2 separate regions of the Homo sapiens genome follow, and region 2 is linked to region 1. The links are contacts of gene promoters, found by promoter capture Hi-C in blood cells and fetal thymus (Javierre and others, 2016). All regions are on one chromosome and are shown on one strand. Each heading gives the region's core, a stretch centred on a gene start or on the middle of the fragment in contact. The rest is flanking DNA. Distances are from core to core; before and after follow the strand shown.

Region 1 (3,011 bases), core at 157-2,656:
AGGACAGTTGGTCACCGGGTCTTACCCAGAAAAGTGTAGATAAGCCATAAGAACTTCATGCAATCAGGCTGGGTGCGGTGGATCATGCCTGTAATCCCAGGACTTTGGGAGGCCAAGGCAGGTGGATCACTTGAGGTCAAGAGTTCAAGACCAGCCTGGCCAACATGGTGAAACCCCATCACTACTAAAAATACAAAAATTAGCCAAGTTTGGTGGTGCACACCTGTAATTCCAGCTACTCAGAGGGCTAAGGCACAAGAATCGCTTAAACCCTGGAGGCAGAGGTTGTAGTGAGCCAAGATCATGCCACTGCACTCCAGCCTGGGTGACAGTGAGACTGTCTCAAAAAAAAAAAAACCAAAAAACAAAAAAAAAAACTTCATACAATCAAATCCCTGGCCATCTAAAATACATTAATGGCCGGGTATGATGGCTCACATCTGTAATCCCAGCACTTATGAAGCCAACACGGGTGGATCAATCACATGAGGTCAGGAGTTCGAGACCAGCCTGGCCAATGCAGCGAAACCCTGTCTGTACTAAAAATACAAAAAATTAGCTGGGCGTGGTAGCGCACTCCTGTAATCCCAGCTACTAGGGAGGCTGAGGCAGGAGAATTGTTTGAACCCAGGGGGCGGAGGTTGCAGTGAGCCAAGATCGCTCCACTGCACTCCAGCCTGGGTGACAGAGTGAGACTCCATCTCAAAAAATAAATAAATAAAAATAAAAATAGATAAAACACATTAACTAAAATGAATTTATTGGAGATGAGAGTAGGGCTGGAGTTTGGAATCTGAAAATGTTAAGTTGCATAATAGTTGATGAACCCACCCACCCAACTTAGGTTTAAGGAATGCTGGAACAGTAAGTCATTAATAACATTCTGAAAAGGAGCGGACGGACACTGAGAGATGCCAACTGAGGTCCTACCCTGAGTGATAAGGTAACTAGGTCAGCCCGATTGTCAAGCCTCATGCTTTCAGACTGAATCTGATGATCCACCACAAGTCCCAAAGGTATTCTGGGCAGTAGTAGAGCCATCCACCGCAGGCACCCTGACCAGAAGGAACCAGCTTATGATTCCAGACAGGAAAATTCTTCCTCTTCCAATGCAGTTTAACACCGTTTTCAATCATTTTGGTAAAGTAGCCATCACAATTTCACAAGTGGTGTGTGTGTGTGTGTGTGTGTGTGTGTGTGTGTGTTTTGCAGGAAGATAATTATTGCATAGGTGGCACTGTCTGTTTATCTAGGTAGATACTGTAGTGCTCATTCATGCCATTGGGTAATTGTAGTGAAGCAATTATGTATCACATTTTGAAAGAGGCATTAAAAAAATTCACCACTGAGATGAGTCAGACTTAATTATCTTGGCTTTTTAGCAGCTGAGTTTAAGGCGCAAGGTGGAGAACACATCAGCTTCAAAGGCAGAGAGAATCGAAGGTGCTCTCCAGCTTTGGACACTTCCTCTGCTTGAGGTAAGACTCATGAACAAACTTCAGGTCTCTGCCAGCCATGATCTCCAAACTGGAGATGTCCCAGATTTGGTAGGACACTTTGAACAGGCAGCTGTCATATATCCTGGGTTATTATTATTGTCTGCCTAGATTTTTCTGTATCTTTGTTTGTTTGTTTGTGTGATGTCACATATGCGCACCTGGAGGCTTCTTAGGCAAAAGCTTTAGTGACAGCTAAACAGCCATAAGAGAGAAAAGAGTTGGTTTAAACCACCTACTTAGTTTTGCATCATGGAACAATGTTAAGAGGGTTGCTCAGTGATCTGGACTTATTTTTGCCTCCATTTCAGAGGGGAACCCAGCACAGTGGCAGAAAATTCTATCTTGTCTCTCAAAATCAGCATGGTTAGGACTAAGGAGTTGTTATAATCTCTGTGCTTTCAAGGCAGGTCTTAAAGCACATCAGTGACCTAGATCCTGCCAGAGCAAAACTAGCCACCCACTTGCCTGGACTGTTGAACTTGTTGGTGTTAGGCATAGAGTTTTGGGGAAAAGACATGCTATGAATTCTCAAGGTCCTTGTCATTAGAGATGTTGCTATAAAACTAGATGTGAGGAGTGGATCCCTTGAAATATTCTGCCCACGTTCCATACCTGTCGATTTAGACTTCTTATGTACGGTCATTTTGTCTTAACCAATATGTCGGAATACCCTTCTAGTTTAGACTTCTTTAAACCTGTTGAACTTAATTTTTCAACCTGCGCCTCTGTTTTGAAGGCTACATTTTACTCATTCATTACTCCCTTAATCGGTTTTTCCAGAGTCAGTCAAAGCTCTTGCCAAGCAGCAGTAGTAGTAGGACCATCTGTGAGTTTCAGGTGTTTTCTAAATTGGACTGGCATTTTCTTAGCTGTCAGGATGACTCACACAAGGACCATTTAATTTAGGAGTATTATTCTGTCTGTGTATTTGTATGGAAAAATAATGACTACTGAGATTTTGAATCTTGGAAAGAAGCAATTCCCCAGAAGCAACAAAATAGATAACTTGCTGGTGGGGTTTTTAAGTGATCTTGGATCCTTTTAACAGGCAACTAGCCCTGCCTGCACTTGTCAGCCAAATTACTTAACCTTTTAGTAGTCATCACCTTGCTTGACAAGGTTCCTTTCCTCCCCTGCCCATAAGTTATCATCGTAACTGAACAATTCAATGAAAAGTTATGTACAATTCACCCCTTCATACCCCAGTAATTTCTTTCACTCATAAAATTTCTAGAGGAAAAATATGTTTTCCTGCCTGTAATTTTGGATTCCTGGATCTCCATCAAAGTGTACCACTTCAGAAACTTTTTTTAACCAAGAAGGGAAAACAGGTTTTACTGCTGGCAGGGAATTTAAAACTCCAGTTGTGTCCAAGAAAATAAGAAGGGATTTGCACTGTGATGCTTGAACGTTTCTAGATGCTTATTGAATTTTTCCACCTTGAAAATGGTGTTTGGTTTTCTGTGCACATGTACCCTAGAACTTAAAGTGTAATAAAAAAAATTGAGTAAC
Region 2 (3,011 bases), core at 348-2,847, 520 kb before region 1:
TGCTTGGGTGGTATTGGTGTAGTGCAAAGTGCTTCAGGTTCCAGGTTAGAATCAAGTCGAGGAATGCCAGTTGCGAAGGTTGGCCTCGTACACACCCCCACATCGCAGTGGCTGTAGACCTGTGACTGTATTACAATGGTGTGCCAGTAGATGGCAGTCAAGTGTCTCCAGGAAAGGCCGGCCTACAGACAGTATTTCCTTACCCGGTCAGCGAACATTTGTTAAGCCTGTTGTCCTGTGCCCTAGCTCATTGTGCTGGATACTGGAGACACAGTGAGCATGGAGACTCAGTTTCTGGTTTCCAGGAGCTCACAGACTATATGTTTGGGGGCAGAGGGCAGCTAAGTGATGTGTAATGACAACGTGAAGTGGTAAGGGCTGGAATGGTTGTAAGTGCAGCGTGCTGTAGGAACCAAGGGAGGACGCTCAGCCCAGCTAGGGAAGGGGGTGCTGTCAAGGAAAACTCAGCAGAGTAGATATCACTCATAGGATCTTGAAACATGAGAAAGAGACAATCAAGGAAGTGCCAAGCAGAGGTGAAGGCCTGTGCAGAGGTTCAGAGGCAGGACAGCACAGGAGTATTTAGAGAAGCACAGGAATTTGGATGCAACCATGAAATAGACAGCAAACTGGAGGGGAAGCAGACCCCCAGTCAGCAGGGTCCAGATCATGAAGGACGCCAGGGCTCTGGACTGGATCCAAAAAGTCTGAAAGACCACTTAGGGTCTCCAGGAAAGGTACCCAAATTCTTCCCTCTAGAGTTTGGGTACCCAGATCACTCGTGTGACTTTGAGCAGAGACTTCTCCATCTGGAACACGTTGGGAGCAATCCCTGCCCTACCACCCCTCAGGGTTGGCATGAGGGTCAAATAGGAGGAAGGATGTGAAGGGTCTGGCTGTCCTTATAGGCCAAGGCCACCTCTTTTCCCCATCACCAGCCATCACTCCTTGCACCTGTGAGACAGATCAAAGCAAGGTGAGTCATAATTCTGCTTTGGAACCCCCAAGAGGGTAAGATTGTTTTGTTTATTTGTGGGTCCCCAGCACACAGCACCCACTAGGCACAGGGTAAGCACTCGATAGCTCTTTGCTCTTGTGGATTCTGTTTCAGGCCATGGACTACATACTTTGCAGCTTACTGTGTGCCAGGAACTATTCTCAGTGCTTTGTATGCCTTGTTTCATTTAATCCTCATAACAACCCTGTGAGGTGGCTACTACTATGAGCCTCATTTCCTAGGTGTGGAAACTAAGGCATTCAGAGGTTGGCTTACCCAAGCTTGCACAAGTGAGTGGAGGAGTTGGGGTCCTATCCAGGCTGTATGCCCTGAAGCCATTGCACTTTACTGCCTTGTTGCATAGAGGATTATGTGACTTTCTCACCACACCCTTCCCTGGTAGTTACTGTCACCACTTGACAAATGAGGAAACTGAGACCCAGAGGGCTAAGTGTCTTGTCTTAGAACACATGGTCAGTGAGTAGTAGAGCTAAGATTTTGCCCAAGCCTGTGTGATTGCAAATCCATGTTTTTTTTCCCAGTATGCTGGTGATTGTAATGATAGGTTACCATTCCCGGTCCCAGGCCCACCCAGTACTTCTTTTAAATTTGGAGCTTGGATTTAAAAGCAAGTGATTTTTAAATCCACGAAAGATGCCTACCTTGGATCCTGCTCTGGTCCTTATTAGCCACACCTCTCTTGACAGGCAGAGGAGTTAGGAGTGAGGGGATATTCCCACCAAGACCCTACAAATTGCACTCTTAGGCCATGCCCTGGGTACCCAAACTCTAGAATTCCCTCCTCAAAGGGACCTTAACCCAACTTCAGAGCCTATATAGGCCAATTCCTTGGTCCATTTTCCAAGGGGTGGCCAAAGGACAACCATTTGGGGAGGGGAAGGGAGTAGATGAAGCTTGGCCACGTGGTCTGGGCAATCCACATACCCGCACCAGGAGCCTCAGTGGTGCAGAGGAGAGTGGGTGGGGAATTAAGGAAGATCTTGGGTGAGGTCTGAGAACCAAGAGCTGGCAATCCTTGTGCTGCCACGTGCTGGGTAGAGTGCAAAGAATTCTGAGAAGTTTACATTCTGAGTCTTTAAGGTCATTATGAAATTGTATCTGCCAAGGAAGGAAGACAGACTCTTTGGGACTCTTTTTTTCTTTTTTCTTTTCTTTTTCTTTTTCTTTTTTTTTTTTTTTTTTGGATGGAGTTTCATTCTTGTCGCCCAGGTTGGAGTACAATGGCGCAATCTTGGCTCACTGCAACTTCTGCCTCCCAGGTTCAAGCGATTCTCCTGCCTCAGCCTCTCCTGCCTCAGCTGGAATTACAGGCGCCCACCACCACTCCTGGCTAATTGTTTGTATTTTTAGTAGAGATGGGGTTTCACTATGTTGGCCAGTCTGGACTCCAACTCCTGACCTCGTGATCCGCCTGCCTCAGCCTCCCAAAGTGCTGGGATTACAGGCATGAGCCACCATGCCCAGTGGACAGATGTCTTTTATTTAAATGTTTGCTGGCTTGATTTTGTCAATTTTAAATATTAGACATATGACCCATAGGTTTCCATTTGTCGCTTTGCCCCAGGCACTTCAAATACTAGACATGGGCTTGTCCTGGTGTCTGGAATTTGCTGATACTACCTTTAAGGATTACGATAAAATTCACAAACTGTATGAAAAGATTCTCTTTGCATGAGGCTGTCCACATGGGTATTTATTTGAAGACCATTGCTGAAAGAAAAAAAAAATCAAAATCTTGCTTTCGAGTCATACTAATAGTTCCTTTCCTACTAAACTACCGCCTAGTTGACATCTAAGCCCATCAGGACGTAAGAAAAAGTGGTGCTAATATCAGAGCTGTCAGTCAGTTTTGGGAAGAGATTAACTCCACCAGCATCAGCTAAGAGTAGGTAGAGAGACTTTGGAAGCAGACAGGCTGAAGCAGTTAGTGAATTTGTAGAAAGGATTCTTTCACAAATGGAAGGCTGAAAAATAATGGGTGATGACATCCATC

The links. The method cuts DNA at HindIII sites, captures the fragments that hold promoters and counts their contacts. A CHiCAGO score of 5 or more calls a contact.
Region 2: a contact is called between a fragment that was not itself captured here and the fragment with the promoter of BPIFC in region 1, in 2 of 17 cell types (M0 macrophages and M1 macrophages). The highest score is 6.3, in M0 macrophages.

What each region holds. Positions count from the first base shown.
Region 1 is chr22:32,462,841-32,465,851 of GRCh38, reverse strand. It overlaps BPIFC (BPI fold containing family C), which reads left to right and starts at 1,406. Exons shown (of 17, transcript NM_174932.3): 1 at 1,406-1,478. The HindIII fragment of the contact is 5,490 bases long and covers 1-1,681 here.
Region 2 is chr22:32,983,351-32,986,361 of GRCh38, reverse strand. The region is part of intron 2 of SYN3 (synapsin III); the gene reads left to right. Among named protein-coding and RNA genes, the nearest start is that of SYN3, 74 kb to the left of the region's middle. RefSeq lists a silencer at 1-278. The HindIII fragment of the contact is 633 bases long and covers 1,281-1,913 here.